Linked DNA regions of Homo sapiens: regions 1, 2, 3, 4, 5 and 6 are each linked to region 7. Evidence: promoter capture Hi-C in 16 types of primary human blood cells and fetal thymus (Javierre and others, 2016). All regions are on one chromosome and are shown on one strand. The core of a region is centred on a gene start or on the middle of the fragment in contact, and the rest is flanking DNA. Distances in the headings are between cores, read along the strand shown. Region 1 overlaps SH3KBP1 (SH3 domain containing kinase binding protein 1). Region 2 has its middle 2.3 kb from the start of MAP7D2. Region 3 overlaps MAP7D2 (MAP7 domain containing 2). Region 4 overlaps MAP7D2 (MAP7 domain containing 2). Region 5 overlaps SH3KBP1 (SH3 domain containing kinase binding protein 1). Region 6 overlaps SH3KBP1 (SH3 domain containing kinase binding protein 1). Region 7 holds the start of SH3KBP1 (SH3 domain containing kinase binding protein 1).

Evidence for each region. Contacts are between HindIII fragments. The CHiCAGO score rates a contact against its expected background, and 5 or more counts as called.
Region 1: a fragment that was not itself captured here is called in contact with the fragment with the promoter of SH3KBP1 in region 7 in 16 of 17 cell types (activated CD4 T cells, total CD8 T cells, non-activated CD4 T cells and 13 more); the score reaches 21.5 in activated CD4 T cells.
Region 2: a fragment that was not itself captured here is called in contact with the fragment with the promoter of SH3KBP1 in region 7 in 13 of 17 cell types (activated CD4 T cells, total CD8 T cells, naive CD8 T cells and 10 more); the score reaches 8.5 in activated CD4 T cells.
Region 3: a fragment that was not itself captured here is called in contact with the fragment with the promoter of SH3KBP1 in region 7 in 9 of 17 cell types (total B cells, naive B cells, total CD8 T cells and 6 more); the score reaches 8.3 in total B cells.
Region 4: a contact is called between a fragment that was not itself captured here and the fragment with the promoter of SH3KBP1 in region 7, in 4 of 17 cell types (total B cells, megakaryocytes, non-activated CD4 T cells and 1 more). The highest score is 6.1, in total B cells.
Region 5: a contact is called between a fragment that was not itself captured here and the fragment with the promoter of SH3KBP1 in region 7, in 13 of 17 cell types (activated CD4 T cells, naive CD8 T cells, total CD8 T cells and 10 more). The highest score is 12.1, in activated CD4 T cells.
Region 6: a contact is called between a fragment that was not itself captured here and the fragment with the promoter of SH3KBP1 in region 7, in 14 of 17 cell types (activated CD4 T cells, naive CD8 T cells, total CD8 T cells and 11 more). The highest score is 15.9, in activated CD4 T cells.

Annotation. Positions count from the first base shown.
Region 1 is chrX:19,698,493-19,702,140 of GRCh38, forward strand. All of the region lies in intron 4 of SH3KBP1 (SH3 domain containing kinase binding protein 1), which reads right to left. Among named protein-coding and RNA genes, the nearest start is that of MAP3K15, 180 kb to the left of the region's middle. The HindIII fragment of the contact is 1,106 bases long and covers 751-1,856 here.
Region 2 is chrX:20,117,208-20,121,237 of GRCh38, forward strand. No RefSeq gene overlaps it. Among named protein-coding and RNA genes, the nearest start is that of MAP7D2, 2.3 kb to the left of the region's middle. The HindIII fragment of the contact is 978 bases long and covers 2,022-2,999 here.
Region 3 is chrX:20,070,686-20,074,371 of GRCh38, forward strand. The region is part of intron 1 of MAP7D2 (MAP7 domain containing 2); the gene reads right to left. Among named protein-coding and RNA genes, the nearest start is that of MAP7D2, 44 kb to the right of the region's middle. The HindIII fragment of the contact is 895 bases long and covers 861-1,755 here.
Region 4 is chrX:20,090,616-20,094,573 of GRCh38, forward strand. The region is part of intron 1 of MAP7D2 (MAP7 domain containing 2); the gene reads right to left. Among named protein-coding and RNA genes, the nearest start is that of MAP7D2, 24 kb to the right of the region's middle. The HindIII fragment of the contact is 193 bases long and covers 1,370-1,562 here.
Region 5 is chrX:19,643,342-19,647,283 of GRCh38, forward strand. It overlaps SH3KBP1 (SH3 domain containing kinase binding protein 1), which reads right to left. Exons shown (of 18, transcript NM_031892.3): 7 at 2,059-2,134. LOC124905255 (a long non-coding RNA gene) reads left to right here. Exons shown (of 2, transcript XR_007068406.1): 2 at 1-1,419. Among named protein-coding and RNA genes, the nearest start is that of MAP3K15, 130 kb to the left of the region's middle. The HindIII fragment of the contact is 3,181 bases long and covers 437-3,617 here.
Region 6 is chrX:19,717,792-19,721,448 of GRCh38, forward strand. The region is part of intron 3 of SH3KBP1 (SH3 domain containing kinase binding protein 1); the gene reads right to left. Among named protein-coding and RNA genes, the nearest start is that of SH3KBP1, 170 kb to the right of the region's middle. The HindIII fragment of the contact is 4,751 bases long and covers 1-3,657 here.
Region 7 is chrX:19,886,010-19,889,915 of GRCh38, forward strand. It overlaps SH3KBP1 (SH3 domain containing kinase binding protein 1), which reads right to left and starts at 1,591. Exons shown (of 18, transcript NM_031892.3): 1 at 1,298-1,591. The coding sequence starts at 1,301. RefSeq lists silencers at 993-1,132, 1,613-1,682, 1,743-2,042. The HindIII fragment of the contact is 9,463 bases long and covers 1-3,906 here.

The DNA of each region.
Region 1 (3,648 bases), core at 54-2,553, 190 kb before region 7:
AAATGGCAGAGGCCTATCATTAACCACGCAGTAAGTGGAGGGGCAGACAATAAAACCACTGCTCATCGCCTGGGGACACACTTCCCATCACAGGTGCACCATGGGCACGATGCTCATTTTTCTGTGAGCTGGAGCCCTTCATGGGGGTGGTGGGGGTGGCCCCAGTACCAGTGAGAGTCGTTCAGTACTATTTCCTTCTATAGCCAGGCCAGCTGTTTTGGTCTCGAGACTGAGGCTGGAGATAAGAGAAAAATGATACCTCACACTATCCCTCTTCAGAGATATTCTAGTTCAACTTCCTGTGTAAAGACGAGGACACGGACACTGCCATGTGATTTCATTCATTCATTCATTCACTCATTCTAAGAGTAAAGCACAGTGCCTCACACATTGAATGAATGAATGAATGAATGAATGAATGAATGGCAGAGACATTATTGGGAAAAATCCTCCATGGGGGCCTAAAGAGCCCTGATTTCCCCCACAGAAAAAGGTTTCCTTCCTGTGAGGAGCAAAAGGAACTGAGAGATCCTAACTATATTTGCCACTGTTCTTAACTAGGTACTGCCACACCCAGGACTGTGTGGTCCTCCCAATTCCACCAATATTTAGTAAGCACCTATCTTGCACTGCCCCAGTACCTGGGGACAGATTCACTGCTGAACAAAACAGATAAAGACTCCATCCTTGAGAAGTTTCCAACAAGAGAGAGGCAGTTACAGAGCCTGAACAGCCCCTGCTTGGAAATCAAGCTTGCTTATGTTTGCATTTCTATAGTTAAGAAAAGAAAGAAATGCGTCTCTTTGTAACAAAGTAGGGATTACGAATACCACACCAAGGGCTTATAACTTCCACCCCAAGGAAAGGACAATAATAAAAGGGGGCAGATGCCGTTCCCCACTCATAAACAGTCTTCTGCAGGCCTTGGCTCTAGGCTGAGAACAAATCCCACCTGTGTCCCTCTACGACCAACCCAGTCAGCTCTGGAGCCCTTTGATTAGTTTTGCCTCTTCTAGAACTTCACATAAATGTGCTAAGATACAATTTCACCGTGCCCCAAGAGTGAATCTCACCTTTGGCCCAGAGCTGGGAGCAGAGCAGCTTACACCTGGTAGCGTTTGAGAACGATGGAATAAAACCACTTCAACAGTTTCTATCTGAGGGCCTTGCAATTTTCATGTCTTTACAATCAACAGCATCTAAGTGGGTTCAGGGTCCAAGGAAGTAGTTTTTAAATCTTAACCCTGTTGGAGATTGGGCAAACACCTGGGTGAACTTCAATACTCCCATCCCCACCCCTTCTTGCACCCCATTTGTAAGGCACTAAAGAGGAAGTCTGTGACTGAAAAGATGGCGTGCTCCCTGTGAGTGCTTGGCTATTCAGGCCAGTTCCTATTTATCACCCCTGAAGTTTTACCTGTCAACTGGACTGAGAAGGGGTATGGAGGCTTTATCAGGTCTACAGTCTACCCAAGGGCACAAGTAGCAAGACAGAAAAAGTTCATCTAAGGATGACTATAGCTTTTTTTCATCCAGTGAATACTTTGATACCCAAACCCCAGTCAGAAGCACACTGGAGGGGTGGGTTTGAGGGAAGCCTGGGGTTAGGGGGATGCACCCAGACAAACGAAGTCAGCTTCATTGTTTCAAGAGTTGTTTTACCATTCTTCCCATAAAAGAAAAGTGACACATCAAAGTCTAAGGAAAGGCCCACACCTTAAAGCTGCTAAAATTTTCCTCAAATTTTTTTTTCAGGAGTAACTAAATGAAAATTGTAATACTGTTCCTTTCTCTTACTTGGGAAAGGTGTTTTGAGAATTTTTAAAACGCTAAAAAAATGTTAAGACAGCTTTTAAAGCTTTTTTAAAATTGAAGTATAATTTACATAAATGCAGAACTTAACAATACAAGCTGATTAGTTTTGACAAACGCCCATTGTAGCCAACACCTCTATTAACATAAAAAGCATTTCCATCACTCCAGAAAGTTCCCTGTGCCCCTTCCTAGTCAATCCACCTCCAAGCAATCATTAATCTGATTTCTATCACCTTTGATTCATTTTACTTCTTCTAGAACTTCATATAAATGTGCTGAGACATAATTTAACTTTTTAAATATCGCTGAAAATAATACAAATTATTTCTGGTAAACATGTTTTTCTATCAGTAGAACTGGTGAAAAAAAAATATATCTTTAAGGGGGGCATTTCCTGAAGGCATAAACACCTACACTATTTTCAATCTCAGAGGATGTGGGAAAGCTGGCTATGCCAAATATAAACAAGCATTATCTAGGTCCTAAATGGCTGGACCAATATTTTCCCCTAATTCTTGTGTAGTTCATTGTATGATTACCTCTTTCTGGCTGGGCCAGAACATTCCATTCACATAGGGAAGCTGATTTTCATTCCCTCCCCTCACTCTTCTGAGAACAAGGCTATTCTACATGAGAGGCGGCCCTCGAAGAGAAATCTGTAGAGTAATTGGAAGGGAAGTCATTTAAGAAAACATATACAATTTCTATTTAAGACTTAGGCCAACTGCCCAACAAGACAGAGCAACATCCATGATTTTTCATCAGAGTGGAAAGGGTTTCTGGTAGAGCTTTCGGAAACTTCCTTCAGCAGTGCTTGATAATCCTGTCCTTCAAAAACAGCCACAGGTCCCCAAATTCCTAAGTGAGTCCAATACTAAGGTCTTTCTATCATTCCAATTAAAAAATATGAACAAATGGTAACACAAGCCAGCAAGATAACCTTTCTGATGAATCAAGATCCTCAAGTTTTCTCCCATTGCTATTTCCAGGTGAGAAAATGGTTATGGGGATATGTTCACCTGGGAAACCTCCAGATTAGGAATCTTTAAACAGGCGCTCCTTTGAAAGTTCAGTGTGGCCAGCACTATAACTTTGATCTCAACCCCATTTCATTGCATCCACCAGCACCTGCTTTCTATACTCTACACCTAAAGTATTAGGGGAGGTCTGCATTAGGGGAGGTCCCAAAGTTTCACAGGTCCTCCCCTAATGCAGAGCAAGGCTCTACTAACACCATGTCCTCCTTCCTCCAGCACCTAACACAAATACCACTCACCATCTGCATCTTCAGTTGAAACCTCACCTATTCTACAAAGCATCTTCTTCACCCTCTGTGACTACTCCTATTTTTAAATTCCTCTCTCGTTCGTCAATGCCATCATTTGCCACTCTGGTAACATCTTGGGTTGATAGTTACCTTAGCTGTGTATATCTTGCCCTCCCTCACTAGACTGAGCATGTTTCAAGGGACAGGTTCTGTTCAATCAATCCCCAAATCTCAATAAACACAGTTTCTCTCAGAGTGTAAGCACTGAAATATTTGATAAATCCCACAGCTATGCAAATCTATTATAAATACCTTTAAACTTGCAAATATGCTACTTTTATATGATTGCAGCCTGTTTTGCATGCTGATGATTCAAATCTAATCAACTTTCTCTTCTAAACACGGCTTCCTTCTCCTTAATATGAATGTTTTACCATCTCTGCACATTAGGAAATCAGAGGTTTTCACCTCAAAGTTATTTGGAGAAATAATTGTAGAACAGCCCAAGCTCTTTGGATTATCAAATTCCAATAAGCAGATATTTTATATTAATGTTATCTTCTTTT
Region 2 (4,030 bases), core at 1,261-3,760, 230 kb after region 7:
TGCACACACAGAAGGCGTGCGTACGCACACAGTTCTTCATACGATGCTTACATGCAACATGCACACACAACGTGCACACCCAGCGTAAATGCATCTTCTCACAGTAGCAGATACACACTCAAAGCGTGTGTAGATGTAGGGTGCAGTTTCTCAGACACCGTGCACACACATCCTCACTCAATGTGTGAACACAGAGCACATAACGCGCACACACGTGCTCACTCAGCACGCACACGCTTACACTCACTGGGTGTCTGCATGCAAACTCAGCAATGCAGCCTTGGGAACAATTTCTGGCTAGGCCCCCAGGTGGGTGCCAGTTGGGCCAGTGACATCTGTGCAGACGCCAGAGGACCCGCCCTCCATGCATAGTTAGGTTCCAGTTTTCGAGGCGCACGGGTAATCAGTGTTTAGTGACGCCCCACCCTCAGCGTGCGGTCACCCAGAGAGGGACAGCAGCAAGCTATTGGGGTCGATCTTCAACTAAGAGGCAGCGGCACGCGCCGTAGGCCGACCTAGGCCTTTCAACGACACCCTACTCCGCAGCCAATTTGGTTCCTCTTCTCCTGAGGCGTAAATAATGCTGACTGAAACCTCCGCGATGCCGGGTGTGGTGGCTCCCGCCTGTAATCCCAACACTTCGGGAGGCTGACGCGGGCGGATTGATTGAGCTAAGGAGTTCGAGACCCCCGTCTCTACAAAAAAATTTTAAAAATTAGCTGGGCATGGCGACTCATCTGTGGTCCCAGCTACTTGGGAGGCTGAGGCGGGAAGATCGCTTGAGCCCGGGAGGTCGAGACTGCAGTGATCACGCCACTGCACTCCAGCCTGGGCGACAGAGACCTTGTCTCAAAAGCAAAATAAAACAAAAAACCTCTGAGGAGGATCTCTCCGAGAAGACACACAAGAAACTGCTAAACGGGTTGCCTCCTAAGTAGGCACTTTTACCACTGCCATGCACATTTATTATCTTTTCAAAAACATTGAAAAAGACATCTTGGCAGGGCCGGCTCAAGCCTTTTGTTTACCCAGGCCTGCCAAGTGATAACCCGTTCCCATGGAGCCCCAGGCTGCATGTTTTTTCTCGTTGGAAGGTGACCAGCCTGAAAGTTTTATTACCACTCCTGGGGGGAGATATACACGATTAAAAATGAAGCTGAATAATGGGTACAGGTTTTCTTTTTTGGATGAAAATATTCTAGGATTATGATGAGTGCACAACTAAGTATACTAAAAACTATTGAATTGTACATTTTAAGCGGGTGAATTTTATGGTCCCTTAATTATGTCTCATTTTTTTTTTTTTAATGTGAAGCTGAAACTCTCAGGAATGGGCACCTGTACTCTTGGCCAAAGCTGGGAAAGTCCCTTTGTGGCACAAAAAATGTTTGTGATGAACGTGTTCCTGACACGCCCAAAGGTGTGCCGGGAGTAGGGTTCAAGTGTGGTGAGAAAGCCAGGAAGTTTAAACATAAATGAGTAGGAAAGTGAGCAGGTGGGGGCTGGTACCCTGAGCTGTAATGAAAACTCGAACACATTGAGATTAAGCCAAATTAAGAGCGTGGGAGCTGTCACTTTCTCCTCCCTTATCTTAGGGACCTTTGGTGAGTTCAATTCATCCAACTCTTGAGCTCATGGACATGTGTGTGTAGCATCCCTCTCTACTTTTATTCTATTTTTGGGGTCCTTTTACTTTCCATTCCTCTCCCTAATTATAAACACCTCCTCTGATATCTTTGCAGCTGCAATTTTGAAATACTGTTTTGAAGATACGCATGTATTTTAATTGTATATAAATGACACTGCATAAAAGCTATCATTCTATTTGTTTTTCCTCTCTTGGCATTGTTCTCAATCTACACAAAATGATTAGCCATTCTATCTGGTTTACCCTTCTGTAAATTCCCTGTTCAATCCTTGCCCACCTTTCCACTGGGCTACTCTGGTTGATTTCCAGGAGTTTCTTGTATTCTAGATAATTTCTGGTTTAAATGTTGCAAATATTTTATCCTAGCCAACTAAGCTTTTTAAGATTGGTAAAATTTTCCTTAATTTTTATGACAAAATCCTATTAACATGTTTACTCCATTTACAATATTGCCCTATTTTTTATCAACTGTTTTTGAAAGTTACATTACAAATACTTCCATGTGTATTTCCTAAGATTATGAATGTTCTGTTACACATACTAGAGTTGACTACCAACTTAAGTTTCACATGGATACAGTAATTTTCTCTCCATTGGCTGTTCCTCCACCTTAGAGGTAGTTTTCCTCTTGCAAAATGCACTGTGGTGAGGCACCTTAAGGCTATGCAGGTACTTACTCTTCGTCAAAAATTCTCTCTAGATTTAGCATCCATTGATGGTTCTTGCTTGATCTGATCTCATAATGATTACGAAGTGATAAAATCCATAAATTTTTCACCTTATGGTTTGCATTTTAAGAAGTCTTAATACGAACTTCCCTAGTCCCAAGATACTCCCCATTGCCCTCATGCTTATAGTAAAAAACGTAAAAAAAAAAAAAAAAAAAAAAAAAAGTAAAAAATGCTTTACTCTTAAGCAATTTTTCTGTATAGGGTGAGGTAAAGAGCCAAATCCACTTTTCTCTCCGAAGTGTAGTTTGGTCAGCACTACCTGCTTACCTATCCTTTCCCCAGTAATTTTTGAAGCCACTTTTTAAAAAATCAAGTACCTAATTTCCATAGTAGGTGAGATAGCTTCTGAGCTATCTATTCTGATCTTCCTGTTACTGCATCTATTATTCACTACTATGGCTTAGGGTGCAATTTATTTGTTGAATTCCCTCTTAGCAGTGTTTCTAGAATTCTTTGAAATTCAGTATTTCCACATGAATATATTTTAGGATGTTTTTGCAATCTCCCACCAAGGCCTGCTGTAATACTAAATGTAATTATATTGAAGTCAGAGGTTAATTTGGAGAAAATTGACATTTTCGACATTATGACAGAATATCCAATAGTGTAATTTCTATTTAAGCTTTTAAAAAAAATGACTTTCGAGTTTTCCGTGCTTTTCCCACTACACTAACTTCCTATAAAAATCTATAGCATGGCCGGGCGCAGTGGCTCACCCCTGTAGTCCCAGCACTTTGAGAGGCTGAGGCGGCCAGATCACCTGTGGTCGGGAGTTGAGACCAGCCTGACCAATATGGGGAAACCCCATCTCTACTAAAGATACAAAATTAGCCGGGTGTGCTGGCGCATGCCTGTAATCACAGCTACTCAGGAGGCTGAGGCAGGAGAATCACTTGAACCCAGGAGGCCGAGGTTGCGGTGAGCCAAGATCGCGCCATTGCACCCCAGCCTGGGCAACAAGAGCAAAACCCTGTCTCAAAAAAGAGGTTTTTGGCCGGGCATAGTGTCTTACACCTGTAATATCAGCACTTTGGGAAGCCAAGGTGGGAGAAGCACTTGCATCCAGGTGTTAGAGACCAGCCTGGACAAAACTGTGGGACCCCCATCTCTAAAAAATAAAAACAAAACATTCGGGCTTGGTGGTGCACCTGTAGTCCCCACTACTTGGGAGGCTGAGGTAGGAGGATCACTTGAGCCAGGGAGGTTGATGCTGTAGTGAGCTGTGATATGGCGTCACTGCACTCACCCTGGGCAACAGAGCAAGATCCTGTCTCTAAATAAATAAATAAATGAATGAATAAATAAATGGCTGAGTGCAGTAGCTTACATCTGTAATCCCAACACTTTGGGAGGTGGAGGCGAGTAGATCACTTGAGGTCAGGAGTTCCAGACCGGCCTAGCCAACATGGTGAAACCATACTAAAAATATAAAAATTGGCCAGGTGTGGTGGCGCATGCCTGTAATCCCAGCTACTTGGGAAGCTGAGACATGAGAATCGCTTGAACCCGGGAGGCAGAGGTCAGTGAGCTGAGATTGCACTATTGCACTCCAGCCTGGGCAACGGAGACTCCATCTCAAAAAAAAAGTTAGTGTCTCTGACAATGCAATAAAAATTTATTAACCTGAAGAGATTAATCTCATACACTGGTA
Region 3 (3,686 bases), core at 58-2,557, 180 kb after region 7:
CAATTAATTCCTACAAAAAAATTGGAATAAAACAGGGATACTGAGCAGTCAAACAACTATCTTATGTTAACAGAAAAGCATAAAATCTCATACTTGACTGAGATCCTACTATCCCTGGGCTGCAGGAACACATTTTTAAAAACTAATTTTAAAATGAATTTTATTAGCTTGAAGTACTCTCCTATAGAATATTAATGACCTGATATTAGTCAATTATTCATGGTAAGAACCACTATCAAAATACAAAGTTTTAAAGGGAAGCCAGCTGTGTTCAACTTTGAAAAATTAATCACATTAAATGAATTTTAAAATAACCTTTCCGATCACACTCAGATTTGTGCAACTGCAATGTCCAGAAAAAAAGGGAAGGAGGAATGAAGAGCTCATCCAATAGGAAATACAATGAAGGGTCCTCACCTCCTCTGGGGAGCCATCCTGATCCCTTCAAGGGGTTGCCAGGCATCCTCTGCTCTGTGGACTCACAGGCACTGTTTCCCACCTTAATGGTCACTCTTGGTTGCACTGTGATGATCTGTTTAAGCATGTGGAGACCACCGCTTCTCAACTTTGGCTATACAATGGAATCACCTGGAGAGCTTTCAAAAATATAGATGCCTGGGTCTCCCTTCAGATTCTGATCTAGTCAGTCTTAGGTGTGGTTTAGGCACTGTTGCTTTAAAAGCCCCGCGTGTGATTCTAATGTGCATCCAGACCTGACAACTGTCCTAGCCCACTGCTCACCACACTTGAGCATGCATCAGAACCACCTGGAGGGCTTGTGAAAATGACTGCTGGACATCACCTCCAGAACTTCTGATGGAGTAAGTCTGGGGTGAGCCAGAGAATCTGCCTTTCTAACAAGCTTCCAGGTGAGGCTGACACTACTGGTCCAGGGCCCACACCTTGAGAACCAGTGTTCTAGATTATGGTGATTCTACAGGGCAGGGCCCTCCCTGTGGCTACTCTCTGTATGACAGAGCTCAGCAGAGTGAGCCCCAAAACAGTCTGCAGAAGGAATGACTGATCACCTGCCACATTCCTCCACAGTGTTTACCTTTGCCAAGGTTGTTACTGTCCTACATGCTACTGTCTAGGTCTGTTTGTTTTGTTTTGTTTTGTTTTGTTTTCCGTGGAGGTGGAAGGCAGGGGCAGGGGGACTGGGTCTTACTATGCTGCCCCTGGTTGATCTTTAACTCCTGGCCTCAAGCAATCCTCCTGCCTCAGCCTCTCCAGTCGCTGTGATTACAGGTGTGCACCACCCTGCCAGGCTTTGGGTCTTTTCATTTGACCCTTGTCCTCTAAACTCTTGTCTTATCTCTGAATCTCTGGCACCCTAAAGACTGGGAGGGACTCAAAAAGTTGCTGAATCAAAGGGCCACGAATATTATGTCCCATTGATGGAAACCTCCCAATTTGCAGAATATTTTAACCTCATACCAGAAGTGTCTATAAAAACAACCAACATTTTAAGGCATCTTTGTACCCATTTTTCTGCTAGAGTTGTGGGAGGAATACAAGGGTAAAGAAAGGAAGGCACTCCATGAGCTGCTCCCCATAGCCCCACCCCCAACACACACACAGATTAATCTTTCCATTGAATTCCATCAGTGCTCTGATTCTCACAGACCTTTTTCCTCTTTACTTCACATTCGGGTCCTTCCCTCTCTCATTCACCACCCTCAGGCACAGGAAACTCTACCCTCCCGATGCCCTCTCTCGCCAACCCTCCCTTTCCAGTCCATCCATCAGGATACAAGCTTCTTAAGGGCAGGGCTATGTTCCATTTCTTCTTGTAGCCCCCAAAGGGCCTAGCACAGTGTTTTGTGCACAGTAAGCACTCAAGAAATGTCAAGTTCATGAAGGGGAAGCAGTAACATATACTGAGCACCTCAGTTTTTGTTCTGTCTTGGCCTCCAGGGGATTGGAGGATCCCACCCACGTTGAGGGTGGATCTTCCCCCACCTAGTCCACTCAGACTCACACACCAATTTCCTCTGAAAACACTCTCACAGACACACACAAAAATAATGCTTTACCAGCTCTCTAGGTATTCCCCAATCCAGTCAAGTTGACACTAAAAATTAACCATCACACTGGATAAATATAATATGGCGTTATACATCCATACAATGAAATAATGTTCAGCCATAAAAAAGGAATGAAGGGGATGGGAGACATTGTGAAACACTACTAATGGGTTCAAGATTTCTTTTGGGAGTGATGAAAATGTGATGGTATTTTAGGCAGTGGTGACAGTTTCACAACATTGCGAATGTACAAAATGCCACCAGATTACACTTCAAAATGATTAATGTTATTATTAGTAAATTATATTGCAATAAAAGAATTTGTAGTGCTCCCCCCCACCCCAAAAAAAGCAAAATACCAAAAACCACATCAGGGAGTGTTCCACAACAAGGCTTAAAATCCAGAGCCTAGTTGATCTTATCTGCGGCCTTCTCCCAAATCTTCTAGGTTGCCTGTTTTTCCTTTTCATCCCAAATATCTAGATGATATATCTGGTTCCAAAGGCAAACCTATGTGGTACATGTGAGTATGTAAAAATCATATATATTTCTATAAAGTATCTTTGTCACACAATCCCAACAGCTTTGTTATTAATTATACTTTGTAAAACTGGGGAGCAAAAATAAATGTTAGCAAGTTGGAAGAAAAATGAGTGTTTATTTTTAAAAGGGGATGAAAAAAACTGCCAATAAATGATAAATGTGTTGTGATAAACAGCTGCTGTGATGGTTACATGAAATGTGTGGGAAGAACTTCCCGTATAATAAATGCTCATTAAATGTTGCTGGCCATTATTTTTAGAGGGGTTCTTTTCTTTTCTTTTTTTTTTTTTTTGAGATGGAGTCTCGCTCTGTCACCCAGGCTGGAGTGCAGTGGCACAATCTTGGCTTACTGCAAGCTCCACCTCCCAGGTTCACACCATTCTCCTGCCTCAGCCTCCTGAGTAGCTGGGACTACAGATGCCCGCCACCACGCCTGGCTAATTTTTTGTTTTAGTAGAGATGGGGTTTCACCGTGTTAGCCAGGATAGTCTCGATCTCCTGACCTCGTGATCCGCCTGCCTCAGCCTCCTAAAGTGCTGGGATTACAGGCGTGAGCCACTGCACCCGGCCCATTTCTTTAATCTAGAAAATAACCCACCGGCCGGGCGCGGTGGCTCACGCCTGTAATCCCAGCACTTTGAGAGGCCGAGGCGGGCGGATCACCTGAGGTCTGGAGTTCGAGACCAACCTGACCAACATGGAGAAACCCCATCTACTAAAAATAGAAAAATTAGCCGGGCATGGTGGCACATGCCTGTAATCCCAGCTACTTGGGAGGCTGAGGCAGGAGAATCACTTGAATCTGGGAGGCGGAGGCTGCGGTGAGCCATGACTGCGCCATTGCACTCCAGCCTGGGCAACGAGAGTGAAACTCCGTCTCAAAAAAAAAAAAAAAAGAAAGAAATGGAGACTTTAAAACATCAAGTGACCCACCCATCCAATGTCCTATTAAGTGGGAGGAGTCTAATTATCTCTCTGACTTTTAATCCAGTGTGATTTCTTCTGGACTCTGCTGCTCTCCTGGGAGAGAGGAGGTGGGGTCAGATTCAGATCAGTGAAAGGCAGGAGTTGGAAATTCCAGGCAAGGGTAATGATTTATGCAAAAATATGCTAGAA
Region 4 (3,958 bases), core at 216-2,715, 200 kb after region 7:
CCACTTGGGAAAAGATTTGGCAGTTCTTTCCACAGTTAAAACATACATATGACCCAGCAATCCCGCCCTGAGGGATTTACCCAAGAGAAATAAAGCAAACACAGGACCACAAGGTGGTTTGCACATGCATGTTCACAGCATCTTTATCCATTATTGCTCAAAGCCGGAAATAGTCCAACTATCCATCAGCAAGAGAATGGATAAAACTTAGCCAGGCATGGTGGCACGTGACTATGGTCCCAGCTACTCAGAAGGCTGAGGTGGGACTGCTTGAGCCTGGGAGGCGAAGATTACAATGAGCCCAGGTAGAGCCACGGCACTCCAGTCTGGGTGACAGAGTGAGACCTCATCTTAGACAAAAAAAAAAGAAAGAAAGAATGGATAAAACAGCAATGGAGCAAAAACACTGTGGTATATTCACTGTGAGTGGAACACTCTTTTTTTTTTTTTTTTGGAAATGGAGTCTTGCTCTTGTTGCCCAGGCTGGAGTGCAGTGGCGCGATCTCAGCTCACTACAACCTCCACCTCCCAGGTTCAAGCGATTCTCCTGCCTCAGCCTCCAGAGTAGCTGGGATTACAGGCGGCCACCACCATGCCCAGCTAATTTTTGTATTTTTACTAGAGATGGGGTTTCACCATGTTGGCCAGGCTGGTCTCAAACTCCTGACTTCAGGTGATCCACCTGTCTCTGCCTCCCAAAGTGCTGGGATTGTAGGAGTGAGCCACCGTGCCCGGCCCAGAACACTCTTTAGCAATAAAAAAAACTAGTATTGGCTGGGTGTGGTGGCTCACGCCTGTAATCCCAGCACTTTGGGAGGCCGAGATGGGTGGATCACCTGAGGTCATAAGTTCAAGACCAGCCTGGCCAACATGGTGAAATCTCTTCTCAACTAAAAATACAAAAATTAGCCAGGCATGGTGGTAGCATTTCTTAAACTCCTTCAAAATAAATCAAAAGCCCAAACTTCTTCCCCAAACAGCAGCTTACTCTATTTCTCCCCAAGTGTACTCCAGAATACAAAAAAAGGCAGGACAGATCTTGTTCTAAAAGTACACTGTGCTTCTCTCTGACCTCGCTCAGAAAATTCCACAGCAAGGGCCTGCTGGTACTCGTTTCATTCCCAGCAATACGGAGATGTAATGAAACAGGAGATACATATATGGCATGGAACAAACACTGATGTCTTTTTAACCAAAAACAATCTGTAGATAGACTAAATAGGATCCTGGCTACCTTTTTGGTCAAGGTTATTTGTTTTGAGCAAGATGGTTTGCCTTGAATAAAGCTACCAGTGGCCAATAGTAAATGATAAATTTTTTAAATTATCCACAAGAAATTATAATATCTACAATTCCCAGCAAGAATCTAAGCTTAACCAAACCTTTCCTGTGTTGAGGGTATCTACAGTTAACACATTGTTTTATAAAAATTTATTTAATAAAATATATGGTTCTAAAGAAACAAGCAAAATGTGGATGCTACCAAGTCTCTGCTTCCCCAGTGTTAACCTGCTAAACTCCTGCACATTATAACATAAATAGGGCTTGAATTCCATTCAAGAAGCTTTGGCTTATTTTTCACAAAACCTAACCTGTGCCTTGTATACAGTAGGCTTACAATAAAATATGGCCTCTTAATAACAGTGTTGGGGCTCAGAAGCAGATATCCCAAAATATGGCACTTTGACGTACTGAACTGAAGAAGCCTCAAGGTCTCTCTGACCTTCCCCCTCCTCCCCCTACCAATGTCTCTCCCAAAGCAGGACGAAGTTGAAGTTCCTTTATGTGCCTAAAGTCCAGACCCACCAAAAGGAACATTTATTTTTTTCTTCCCCTCCTTGTAAGACCAGGAATGTAACCACACCTGAAAGACCCGTTCACAAGATAGTATACAAGTTATCTTGTCCACTTATTCTCCCTAGTGATCCTCTCAACAGAATTCCTCTTCTTCCCCCGTCTTATAACTTATTTTGCCAGGATGGTATATAAAGCCTCTGAACCCTGTTGGAGGTAGGTAGTCACTCATGGTTCTCCCTGTATAAACGTGAATAAAATGTGTATGCCTTTTCTCTAATTAATCTGTCTTTTGTGAGTTCACTTTTCAGCAAAACTTCAGAGGGCAAAGGGGAAGTTTCACTGAGTTCTGACTCTGTACCAGGTACGAGTAACAGTGCTTCTCAAGTTAAATACTGATATTTTCAGACTGTAATTTGTAAACTGATTTTGAAACTGTAATTTGACTATTAAATGTTTCTGTTGATAGGAGGATCCAGTGGCTGAATTTATACATCTGGACACTACATTTGTAAGGCAAGCATTTGATTTCTGTCCCAGTACTCACTCACATGGGCCACACACTGAAATCTCAGTTCATTGCTCCCCAGGCTGTGTGACTGATCAATCTGAGACCAGCTTCCACCCAGTTCTCTCTTGCTGGCCTAGCTCGCAGTTCCCACAGCCTCCCAGCCAGTGAAAAGAAGGCTGGCCTCATAGTGACAGAATGAAGGCAGATGACTTGGAAGGGTGTTCGAGGGCTCAAACACACTATTTGTCCATCCCTGGTTTGTTGGATGAATTCCTGCAGTTGTGCCACATCCACCAATTCATCCGGTTTGGGAGCTAATTAAGGAGAATTTAGAGCTAACCTGCTAATATCAGAAGAGGGGAGGGAGGGAAGGGGAAAAGACAAAAATGGAACAGAGACGGAAAAAAGGGTGGTGGCTTATATTATAATTTAGAGAGGAAGAAAGTCACCATTAGCCTGGGCGCGGTGGCTCACGCCTGTAATCCCAGCACTTTGGGAGGCTGAGGCAGAAGGACTACCTGAGGTCAGGAGTCCAAGACAAGCCTGGTCAACATGGTGAAACCCCGTCTCTACTAAAAATACAAAAATTAGTTTGGCGTGGTGGCACGCACCTGTAGTCGGAGCTACTCAGGAGGCTGAGGCAGGAGAATCGCTTGAACCCGGGAGGCAGAGGTTGTAGCGAGCCATGATCGCGCCACTGCACTCCAGCCTGGGTGACAGAGTGAGACTCCATCTCAAAAAAAAATAAAAATAAAAATAAAAAATAACCATTAAACAAGAATGCAAGAACGCTGGTCAAAAATCTATAGAGACTGAGATTAGTAGTTGGGTGGCCTAGGGCAGGGGGTTGGGGTAAAACAAGTAAGGGATTTCTTTTTGTGGTGATGAAAATATTCTGGAATTGATTGTGGTGATGGTTGCATGACTTAATATGCTAAATCCACTGAACTGAACGCTTTAAAGGGGTGAATTGTATGACGTATTAAAAAAAGAAAGAAAAGAAAACTGGCCATGTATCTGAAAACCACAATAAAACCATGTCCAAAGCACAAAATATTAAAACCACAACTAAAGGATGAGAACAAGTGAAAACCAGAGCACCCTGGTATATGTATAAATGGCTTGTAATAACAAAAGCAGAGGAGTTGTATTCCTTGTTCCAAAGCAGAGCAATATGAATCTGAAAATCAAATATTTAAGGCATTTATTATAAACAACTTGCTTTATGTTTGGAAATGCAAGTAGCTTCAGAATTTAGGACCAGAACCAGAGAAGGAACAGAAGTAGTTCCCTGCTAGGGAAGGGCATGTGACAAAGCTTATAGCACATGAACACCTGTCTGCTCCTATAGAAGCAGGCTTCCAGAGCATTGCTGGGGAGTCTGACCCATTTGTGAGGTTCTTCAACATCCCGTTCCATAAAACAAGGCCTCACGAGTAGCTGAAAATATGTCAGGTAGCAGGGGAGCCTTTCTAAACTTCAGGTCAGAAAGCCTCGCAGTGGGCAGAGGATTGTTGCTAAAGATTATGAGACGTTTCAAGGAATTGGTAATAAAAAAAATACATACATATATATATATATATATATATATATATGTATATATATATATATATATATATATGTATATATATATATATATATATATATACATAT
Region 5 (3,942 bases), core at 777-3,276, 240 kb before region 7:
CAGGGTCTCACTCTGCCACCCTGCTGGAGTGCAATGGTATGACCTTGGCTCAATCACTGCTGCTTCAACCTCCTGGGGTAATCCTCCCATGTCAGCCTTCCAAGAAGCTGGTCTCAAACTCCTGGGCTCAAGTGATCCACTTGCCTCACTCAGCCTCCTAAAGTGCTAGGACGACAGCTGTGAACCACTGTGCCCAGCCCAACTGTAGAAATTCTTATCCTGGTGTCTATGAAAAATGTCTGTCAATAAACATCCCTCAAGCCTTTGATGACAGTAATAATTCCCTTTCCTGACCTGCTACCATTTACAGGCATATTAACATCTATACCCAAAGACACCTTTCTCATATTCCTACTGAATTGTTCACATCTTCCTTTTGGCTCTTCCATCAGCTGTTTAATTTTTGAATGCAGAAACCTTCCCCTCTGAATTGTAAAGCTTTTAGAACTGAATGAGAGGATGAAGATGCTGGGATAAACCCTGGGGTTTATCTCTAGTATAACCCTCTGACTTCACAGACAATGCAGATGATGAAGAGGAAGGCCAAAGGAATAAAATGACTTGCCCAAGTTCACATGGCTAGCTAATAACAGAGCTGGTCCTAGAATATGGGCTTCCTATAAACCCACTCTTTTGAGTAACCCATCCCCCACCATGCTGTTCCTAGAGGGCCAGGTATGTGGATGTAGTTAATAGACGCTTTTAGGACTGAACAAGGCTTGGGCTGGAGCCAGGATTCTCCCACATGCTTAGGCAAGCTGAGCATTTGGAACTGTGTTCATTTTCAAGCCCAGGAAGCCCCTCTTGGACCCCAGAATTACTCTAAAACTATACTGTCCACAGGGAGTAGGCAGACAGTTACCAGAGGCTGGGAAGGGTAGTTGGGGGCTGGGGGGTAGGAGGGATGGTTAATGGGTACAAAAAATAGTAAGAATGAATGAGACCTAGTATTTGATAGCACAAGAGAGTGACTATGGTCAATAATAACTTAATTGTACATTTTAAAATAAAGAGTGTAACTGGATTGTTTGTAACTCAATGGATAAATGCTTGAGGGGATAGATACCCCATTCTCCATGATGTGCTTATTTCACATTGCATGCCTGTATCAAAACATCTCATGTACCCCATAAATATATACACTTACTATGTACCCACAACATTGTTTTAAAAAGAAAATATTTTAAAAAATAAAACTACACTTTCCAATATGGTTGCCACTAGGCACACATGACTATTGAGTGCTTGAAATGTAGCTACTCCAAATTGAGGTATACTATGCCTATGAAATACATATGGGATTGTGAAGACTTCACATGAAGAGAGCAATGAAAGTATCTCATTTAATAATTTTACGTAGATAACATGTGGCGATAATATTTGGATATATTGAGTTAAATAAAAATACATTAAAATTAAGTCCAATTGTTTTTCCTTTTTTTTTAAACATGGCTACTAGAAAATTTAGAATTACATATGTGGCTCACACATGATATTTCTATTGGCTAGCACTGTTCTAAAACACAGTTAACCCCTCCCATTCATTAGCCTAATCCTTCCAAAAAGACTTGAGCCTCCTGCCTGCAGACATGCAGTGGTATCTGGAGATATTCAAGCAGAGATGTGTTGAAGATACCAGTGGGAAGTCAAGGGTAAGTAAAATTGGTCAAGTTCAAGTGGTTAGGCCTCTCCGACCTGAGGGCTCGTGAATCCCTAAAGCGCTTAATTTGCCACTCTCTAAAATCTTTCAGCCACCTTAACTGTGCAAAGTGCTTGTTATATATGGATAAACCCTAGCTCTTCATACGAGTGAGATACATATAGCAGGAGAGAACCACGTTCTGTAATAAGGGGAAAGAAAAAAACAAAAACAGGAGTTCTGAATCTAACCTGTGCCCACCCTAATGGTGGGGAATTGAATGAAATACAATTGTGTACATTTTTCTGATGCGTTTGCAAAAGCTATCAAGGTTATATAGGGATTTCTAAAAAACATTTCTGTTATTGGGAAATCCTTAAATGCTTTTAAATGTGAAACAGATAACTAAGGAAACTCACTCTTTGTCCTGCTGTCCATTTCTGTTTTTGATGAGTCTGGAGTTGCTGTAGTTGCAGGTAACTTCTTCCCAATAGTCTGAGGGGAAAAACAGATGATTTTACTTATCAAGATGATTGTCTCCATTAAGCAAAGGAATAAGATCCAGATCATAATGACAAAATGCTCGAAATTGGTTTAAAAAGCCACATTCTTTGGTTTATGCCCTGCTCTGTATACTGGCTGCCCCCCTTTAATAGGTTTCATCCTCAATGACAAACAAGGGAGAAAAATAGGTAAAAAGGGCTTTATCCTTGTAGGCACTTAGTAGCGTTTATTCTCTTTCTTCCTTTATACTCTTATAAAAGGTTGACTATTTTTAGCAAAGAAAACAGGCATAGTTCCCCTCAGTTTATGAGAAGCTGACTCAGTCTATGGAGGTACAATAGCTGGCCCAACGGAGATGCTCAAAAGTCACTGCAGGCTGGAAAAATGGAAGTAGGAGGGAAGAAATCAAAAGGAAGGGATACAGGAATGGAGGCCCAGGAGGGCAGGACGGGCAGGCAGGTGGATGGGCAGGCAGAAGTCAGGATGTCCAGGACAGTGTACCCTATTGCATCTCTGTCTAGCCATCTAGAATTCCACCTGCCTCCCAGAGAAAGGGGAGATACTCTCATGTCCTCTAAACAGATCTACCTGCCTGCCACAAAGGCAAAAATGAGTCCACCAAGCAGCTCTTTTCCTTATAGTCTTTTAAGCCTCCAAGGGCTTAGAAAAAATCCAGCGCCTCAGACCCTATGCTTCCACTGACTAGTTCAAAAAAAGAAAGATTATGAGTTTGTTTTGAGTTCATTTCCTTTCCTTCATTTGCGGCTAATTCTATTAACATTATTTATGAACTGTCCATAGAGAAGACTGGATCTTATCTCTGCCTAAAGATGTTCCTAAAAACACAGGCAACTCAGCAGCTCAAAAATAGAAAGAAATATACAGATCCATTGGTTCCCAAGGCGAGGTCTGTTCCCACTCTTCCCCTTTGCTACCACACGTGTGTGATCATGATTGATGCCTGAGGGAAAATGTCTATTGATACCAGGGCAACAGCTGTCACGACCACGTAGCTGGGGAAATCAACCTCTCCTGCAACAATGAAGGGTTTTGCCAGTGAGAATTCCAGCCACTGGGAAAATCAAACATCTCTGGCCCTTGAACACATGAAGAGGAATGAACTGCATAATTCAAAAACTGGCATGGTAGAATTTTTCTTCAAAAAAAACTGATTCACCACAGTTTTTAATTTGAAAAAGTTATTCATGCTTCAAACGTTGAACCCAACATTAAATATGAATAAATCACAGAAAGAGGATAAGATAAATCAAATCCTCAGCCCTTCATGAATTTTTAAAAACATTTGTGACAGAAAGCCTTTACGTCTTACACGGTGACATTTTTATTTAGTGCCGCAGGGCCTTCTGTATTGGATAAAAAATGGAAACCAAAATAATATGCCACCTCTAAACTGCCGCTAAGTACTCAAACTAATAACATTTGATGATTCCAGGGGAACATCAGGGATGAAAAAAGCTTGATGTTATTCTGGCATCAGGTCAAATTTGATGAAAAACTGTTCTTAGAATTATTTTGAAAAATCAGGTACCGATAGTAAAAATAGCAGCTCTCAAAGTGTTCATTTCATTCACATTCCTGTTCACACTTCTAGCAGCATCCCTGCCAACATATTTGTTTTTCCCTTTGTGGGGCTGGAATAAAGCATCACCATTGTTAACACATTAGGAAGAGGAAAACAAAAACAACCAGTGCTTCTGGTATCACTGAACAAAGAATTCAGGAAAGGCAATAGTAAACACTGTCCCTACTCCTGACTTTGTTTGCTTCCCTGAAAAAAA
Region 6 (3,657 bases), core at 694-3,193, 170 kb before region 7:
CCCCCTGTGAATTAACTTTACTAAACCGTAGAGCAGGGCTATATATGAACAAGAAATGACGTATGTTTGATTTTATATTCGGTCCCCTTAAAAGACAGAAAACATTTGGTTTAAGTAGGCAAAGATATATGTATAAGAAGGTTCAGGGCAGCATTGTTTCTAATAGCAAATGCATATATGCACAGAGATCTACATGTGAAACCTGGATGTCTACTGGGAGGGGAAGGTATATCCAGCAGCCATTAAATATAACAAGTAGCTCTACGTGTATCAGTGTGAAAAGGTGTCCATAGTACACTAAAAGACTAAATCACGTAATATGTATACTATGATCCCAATTTTATAAATACACACACACACACACACACACACACACACACACACACACTCATAACTCTAAGCAGCATGTAGCATTTTAGTTACTCCTGATAACTCGGAACCTAGCACAGAGTATACATTCAACAAATGTTCATTAATAAATAAATGAATCCATTCAACATTCAACTAATTTATGAAGGTCTAATACAATTAAATGAATGAGGGCAACAGAGTAAGAGACTGTCTCAAAAAAAGATACAAATGAATGAGAGAAAGGGGGTATATGTACACGGACACACTTGTGTAAGCACAGAAAATGGTATGGAAGGCTATACCCCAAAGTAACAGTGATACTTCAGGGGAGGCAGATTGGGGGAAGGGTAGAAACTCATTTAAATGCTTCTACAATATCAATTTGTCTTCACAAAGAGCACGTAATATACTGTAATCACTTTTTAAAAACATCACAGTCACCTATTAAAATAATTACCTTGCATTATGAAACTTACCTTTCTGATCACACTTTGATTACATTAATGGTAAAGTGAGTTGGTGTTTTGAAAGAAATAAATATCAATTCAATCAGCAAGAAAGGTGCTTTTCATGGGGCTGAATGACAAGGGGCCTCGGACCTCCCAATGACAACTGGTTGTGGCTGGTCTACGAACACAGCAGGAGGTGTGAGCTCAGAGACAGGGCTCCACATCTGTAGCCCACATTAGTCATTATTCTGATCAGATGCTGTTACAGAACCCTGAGGAGGCCCATACTATTCCATCAGTGACCAAGCCAAGGTTATCTTCCCTGGCCAGACACCACCAGCCTACACAGCCCAGACAGCCATCTCTCACTAGGTGGAGGGGCCCTGTGGTGTCCATCTTCCGAGCTCGCCCCTCACTCATGGGAACACATACATACACACACACATACATACTCATTCATTCAGCCGTGGGGGCCCCTTCTCTGGGTTCTCCTAACAACCATTGCTTTTCTCTAGCACTGTCCTCCTTCCATTGTGTTTTTGTTATCTGTGAGTGTCGGTTGCTGTCTGTCTCCATCTTTTCAACCCTGACACCTCTCAGCTCTTTCACGCACATCTGTATCAACCAATTCGACTCACTCACATCTGCCTCATGATGGTTAGGGCGATGCCACTGCACCACTCTAGATCCCTATGTGGACCCCAGGTGCCATATATCTAGAAAATCCCCGATCCAGGCCCTCCTCAGCCCTATGAACTTCAGAGTCTAATGCCTCATTTAAAGAAGTCACTGAAAACTGTCTTAAATTTGGGCAATTAACATCTGACCCCCCCAAATCAAGTTTCTACTTCCAACGTAATAGTCAAAGGGGCCATCCATTGAATAAACTGAGTTTCTGCAAAGAGGAGCTGTATATGTATATTTTAACATTAACATTGTCATCTGATATTTCTTTAGAAGCCACATCTGTAATTTTGGTGCCATGAGCATGAAGAACTCAACATCCTCCACCTCAACTATATCTTATAAAAATGATATGTGAATTAGCCATGTGAAAGGGTGCAGGGGCTCTGATTTCACTGCTCATGGATACGTGGTCTTCACTTAAAGCATTAAAGCACATAAAAGAGAACCCTGGGGCCAGGCATGGTGGCTCACACCTGTAATCCTAGCACTTTGGGAGGCTGAGGCAGGAGGATCACTTGAGCCCAGGAGTTCAAGACCAGCTTGGGCAACATAGTGAGACCCCACCTCTAACTAATAATAATAATAATAATAATAATAATAACAATAATAATAATAATAATAGAGAACCCTGAGTTAACAATACAGAAGAGACAAACGGCCCAACTCACCCAGCATTGCAACCCCTGCGTGGCTCTCTGCCTCGGTTTTCTCACGTATAAAATTGGGATGATGGAGACAGACCTACTTTCCAAGGGGCTTACTTCCACCTGACTCTCTCCCTTTTTTCCATTTGGCTTTACATTCAGGAATCTGTTAAAAGACAGCTCTGTTAATGTTTTTTTCACCAGCCTTCCCTTCCAATCAGAGTGAGATAAAGGAATCACGTCATAACATAAAATCAGTGACGTCTCTAAACGTCCCTCTGCTTTTCATCTTTCTTCAGGCTGGTCCCAGGCATTGGTTTTGGCCTTTCAGCACAACCCTCAATCCAAATAACCCAACCTCAGCAGGCCATACCAGGGACACTTCCCTAATGTGTCCCTGGCTTGACTTTCCCCCAGCCCTGGCAGCTAGCTCTCCAGAGGAGAGGGAGTCTGGATTTTCAGAGGAGAAAATCCAATACGTAAAGCACACTGCTTTTCCCTGCAAGGCTAATTTTGGCAAAATGCCCAAAAGAACTCAACATATTTATAGGGTTTTGTTTGATCTACTTTTAAACGCTCCATGCAGAGTCATTCAAGTGAAATGAGAATACAGAATTTCAAAGGAAAAATTGAAGGAAGGTTCTAAATGTAAGTTATTTATTGAGCATAAACAAGATTTCTCCTTTCTATCCAACATACTCCCTCTAACATATCTATTTTTAAAGGCATTCTCAAACTTTGCTGCTGACAAATGAATATATCAGACACCTAACTTTTACAGTTAAAGGTAGAATGGGCAGGGAGGGGGAAAAGATGAGGGAATGAGGGGTAGGAGAGGAGAAAAAAAGACACAAACATTTGAAGAACTGTAACAAAGGTCTAGAAAATCCTAAAGACCTTCATCTGGGATACTTCTGTCTTGCCTAATCTTAGAGAATTACTGGGAGGTATGTGTGTGTGGGTTGTGGGGGTGGGAGATACACACCATAAACAAATCTAGGGTTTCCCAGTTTTTAAAATCAGTACCAAAAATGGCCACTGTGCTCGGAGATTTAGAAAGTGTCAAAGAATTCCACATGTACCCTCTCTTTTGGGGGTAGGGGGAGATCTTCATTGCAGGTAGTCATAATATTTTTAAATTTTGACTCATTTTTAATATAGTTTCCCTTCTCATCCCCATCAGAATAAAGAGGGGAGGAAGCCTAGGTATTTCTGAATTTTCTTGATGCAAATGGGAGTTTATATCCCTGCAATTCATTCCTCATAATCTGAAAGGCTAAACCCCTTAAGCAGAGGTCCTTAACTGGGGTGTGTGGATAGAATTCAGGGGGTCTAAACTTACATGGGAAGAAAAATACATCTTTTACTATCTTCTGAAATTTGGCCTTTATTCTCACCGTGAATCTAAGCAACAAACCACAATGGTACTAGCAGCATCTATGAAATTTATTTATTTCCCACTACATGAATAGATATTTTCATTTCATTTCACAGTTGCAGTTATCTTGAACTATCATTTACACTCA
Region 7 (3,906 bases), core at 341-2,840:
ATACTGCTACGAAAAAAAAAGGTGTTGTATGAGAAAATGGAACAGGAACCAATTTAGACTACAGGTGGGAGAGAAGGGCACTGTGAAAAAAGTGACATTTAAGCCAAGGGGACAACAGATCACCACTACTTAGAAAAGGAAAACCTTTTTTGGCAAATGACCACAAATGGGATTTTAACTTTGCCTGTCAACAACGGACTGGGTTAAACCTCCTCTTTTCCAATCCTTCAGGCTTTCTGAACATCCTGACTAGTGTACTGGAATCCTATTACCTGAACACAGAAAGGTCTCACTTTATTATGATTTATTATTATCTGCAGCCTTCCTATGCCTGGCCTAGGAACATCCAAAAATAATCTGCCAGAGGCTGAAAAACAGAAGCTGGCTGTCAGCAAGAACATTACCTGGGTAGACCAAACATTTAATAGCCCAAGTAATCATAAGTGCCTTGCCAATAAAGTGGCAGCTTCTCTGGGCAGCAAGGTGGTTCCAATGCTCCGGGGTCTAAATCAAATGGGACCCAGGGGGTTCAAAGGTTAGTTGGCTACTTCGAACTGATGTTTACTCAGTAAATCAAAGACCGGATCACCATTTCCAGGTCCCAGACCCTGAAGACTTAAAGGACAGTATGGGAAGTGGCCTTTTAGCATCACGGAGCAGAGAGCTCGCCAGGCTGGAGGAAGGCAGCAGCGAAAGGGTCGGGGCCGGGAGGAAGGGGGGCGCAAGGAGAGGAGCGTCAGGTGCTCTGGACCCCGGGACTGCGAGCCAGACCAGGAACTGGGGCGTTTCCCGCCCCACCCCCCAACCCCTGTCAACCCCCAGCAAAGGCAACCCAGCCCCCTCCAAGACCCCGAGGTTCCAGCTTCCCCCGAGACAGGACCAGGAAGACACCAGCAGCCCCGCGCAGGGCCGGAGCCCACCAGGTCCGGGTGCCCGTGTCCGCAGCGCAGAGGAGGGCGCGCTCGGGTGCAAAAATGGCCAAGACAAAACTCTCCCCGCCCACCCGAAAAACCAACCACACCCCCTGCATCCCTCAGCCCGAGCCGCCCGGGGCCAGCCCCCGTGATCGTCTGCTCAGGCCCCCGCGGGTTCCCGTCGGCGCCGCGCGCGGGCTCGGCGGGCACACGGGCGCAAGTGGGAGTGAATGGGGGTGCGCGAGGCAGGCGAGGGCGCCCACCGCGGTGTCCCCCGTCCGGACCCTGCCCCCGGGGCGCCCTCCCGGGCTCCGCGGTTCTGGGACTGGCGCGCCGCCCTCAAGGCTGAAGTGGACGCCCGGACGCGGGCGGCCCCCACTCACCCATTGGCGTCGAGCCGGGCCGGGCCGCCGAGGCAGCGTGAAAGTTGGCGGAGGCGGGCGTGGGGGTTGGGGCGCCGGGATCGGGGCGCTGGGATCCAGGCGCGAGGGTCCGGACGCGGCGGCGGCTGGGCCGGCTTCTTCCTCAGTGGCGGCGGCGGCGGCTCAGCGCCGCCCGCTGCTGCCTCTGCTGCTGCTGCCGCTGCTGCCCCGGGGCGACTCCTGCTGCTGCTGTTGCATCGCGGCCCAATGCGCCCGGCTGCGCCGGGTTTCCTGCTCCCCGCGAGTGGAAATTGCGAAAAAAAAAAAAAAAAAAAAAAAAAAAAAAAAAAAAAAAAAAAAAAAAACAGCGCCGCCCAGCCCAGCGCCCGGCAGCCGCGGCCGCGCCGCCCGCTCTCCCCTCCTCCTCAGCGCTGCCGCGAGGCTCCTGCAGCTCCGCCTGCCGGGGACGCGCGGCCGCCGGGCGGGGGCGGGGCCGGAGAGGGGCGGGGCCGGGGCCGGGGCCGCGTCGGGGCAGGCGCCGGGGGCGTCCCTGCGGCTGAGGGGCTTGGGCGCCCTCCTCACCGCCCGCGCCAGAGGCACCCCTCTCCGCGCGGCTGCCACCCACCCGCAGCGGCTGGGCTGACGCCCCGGGAAGTGCCGCGAGACTCCTCGAGACCGGAGGAGAGGGGCTTCTTGGGGGAGGGGCGTGGGAGTGCAGGGGCACGTGGAGAAGGAGGAGAAGGGGGCTGAGCGGGAGGGGGCGACAAGAGGTGGAGGACGGGCTGGGGATGGAGACCAGGGCAGGCCCGGGGCCAAACGCCTGACCAGGGTGATGGCAGGTGGCCCTGGGGCATCGAGGCAATCTGGAATGAGTTTTCCCGGGGGGCTGTTGGAGGGGAAGGAAAAGGGTCCCTTGGAAGGGAGAGAAACGCGGCGTCCCTTCGGTGGGGCGTGGGAACGCAGGCAGGCCAGGTGCGAGTTCCGCACAGAGGAGGCGGTGGCACTGACGTGGGGAAAAACGGGCGAAGGACGCAGCGGGGCCGAGGGGACGCATCGCCTCGCTGGGACCCGCCTAAGCCCCGCCCCAGTGCCTGGGCCAGGTGCGGTTCGGGTGTTCAGGAATGTTCCCGAGCTCTGACGTTCCCAGGAATCCGCTGAGATGAGGGCTGGCTCCCTCCCTAGCAGGCATTATTGTGCCTTACTGACTCCCAGACCTGGACGGCCGACCCTTGAGTGGGCGCTAAAATGTTAACAGGGAATCCGTGGGCATTCGTGGGCAATTCAGAAGCTCCGTTTTGGGTCCATTCACCACCACACCTTTCGCCATAGATACTCTGCCTGCCACCACATTCCTCTACCGGCCCGTTATTTCCTTTTCCCTTTCCACCATCTGGTGGTAGGAAGCGATAGTGAACTACATGGGAGACATTTAGGCAAAGAGCACGTAAGACAATAGAGAAATTACATCAGTGGCCCCTGGAAATGGAGGAGGCTGAGGGCTAGTGGACTCAAAAGGGACAAATGAAAGCCGACCCCCTACCCAAGAGAGGGGCTGTCTCCATACCTCACCTGTGTTGGCGGGGCAACTCTTGTAAATTGGTTACCGTCCTGGGATTTCTGTAGAAAATTGTTCTTATAACTGTTTCATGAGTTTTTCAAAAAACCTCAAAGTCAGGGTCTTACAAACAAGAGATCAGTAGCATCATCTTTCTAAATACCGTTCATGTGTGTCAAACCGATCGAAATAGGAGACTAATCAAGGGACAAGAGGCCCATCCACACAGAGGCTGCAATTGAAGTCCTAGTGTCATCAATATCAGACTCCTAAAAAAGGGATCAGAGAACACGGAGATTAAGAATGTGAAGGCCGGGCGCGGTGGCTCACGCCTGTAATCCCAGCACTTTGGGAGGCCGAGGCGGGCGGATCACGAGGTCAGGAGATCGAGACCATCCTGGCTAACATGGTGAAACCCGGTCTCTACTAAAAAATACAAAAAATTAGCTGGGTGTTGTGACGGGCGCCTGTAGTCCCAGCTACTCCGGAGGCTGAGGCAAGAGAATGGTGTGAACCCGGGAGGTGGAGCTTGCAGTGAGCCAAGATCGTGCCACTGCACTCCAGACTGGGCGACAGAGCGAGACTCCGTCTCAGAAAAAAAGAAAAGAAAAGAATGTGAAGTGGGCCAGGCACGGTGGCTCACGCCTGTAAACCCAGCACCTTGAGAGGCCGAGGTGGGCGGATCACCTGAGGTCAGGAGTTCAAGACCAGGCTGACCAACATGGCGAGCCCCTCTCTCTACTAAAAATACAAAAATTAGCCAGGCGTGGTGGTGCATGCCTTAGTCCTAACTCCGTGGGAGGCTGAGGCACAAGAATTGTTTGAACCTGGGAGGTGGAGGTTGCAGTGAGCCTAGATGGCGCCACTATACTCCAGCCTGGACGACAGAGCGAAAAACTCCGTCTCAAAAAAAAAAAAAAAAAAAAAGAATGTGAAATGTTGAAGGCAGGGATGATGAATACTCAAATATTCCTCCTCCAGGCACCCTGGTGCCTCACTCATTACATGTCTTGTTATATCATGTTCTAATCAGGGCAATCAAGCCTTCTGATACCATCTTAGAGTTGACAAACAC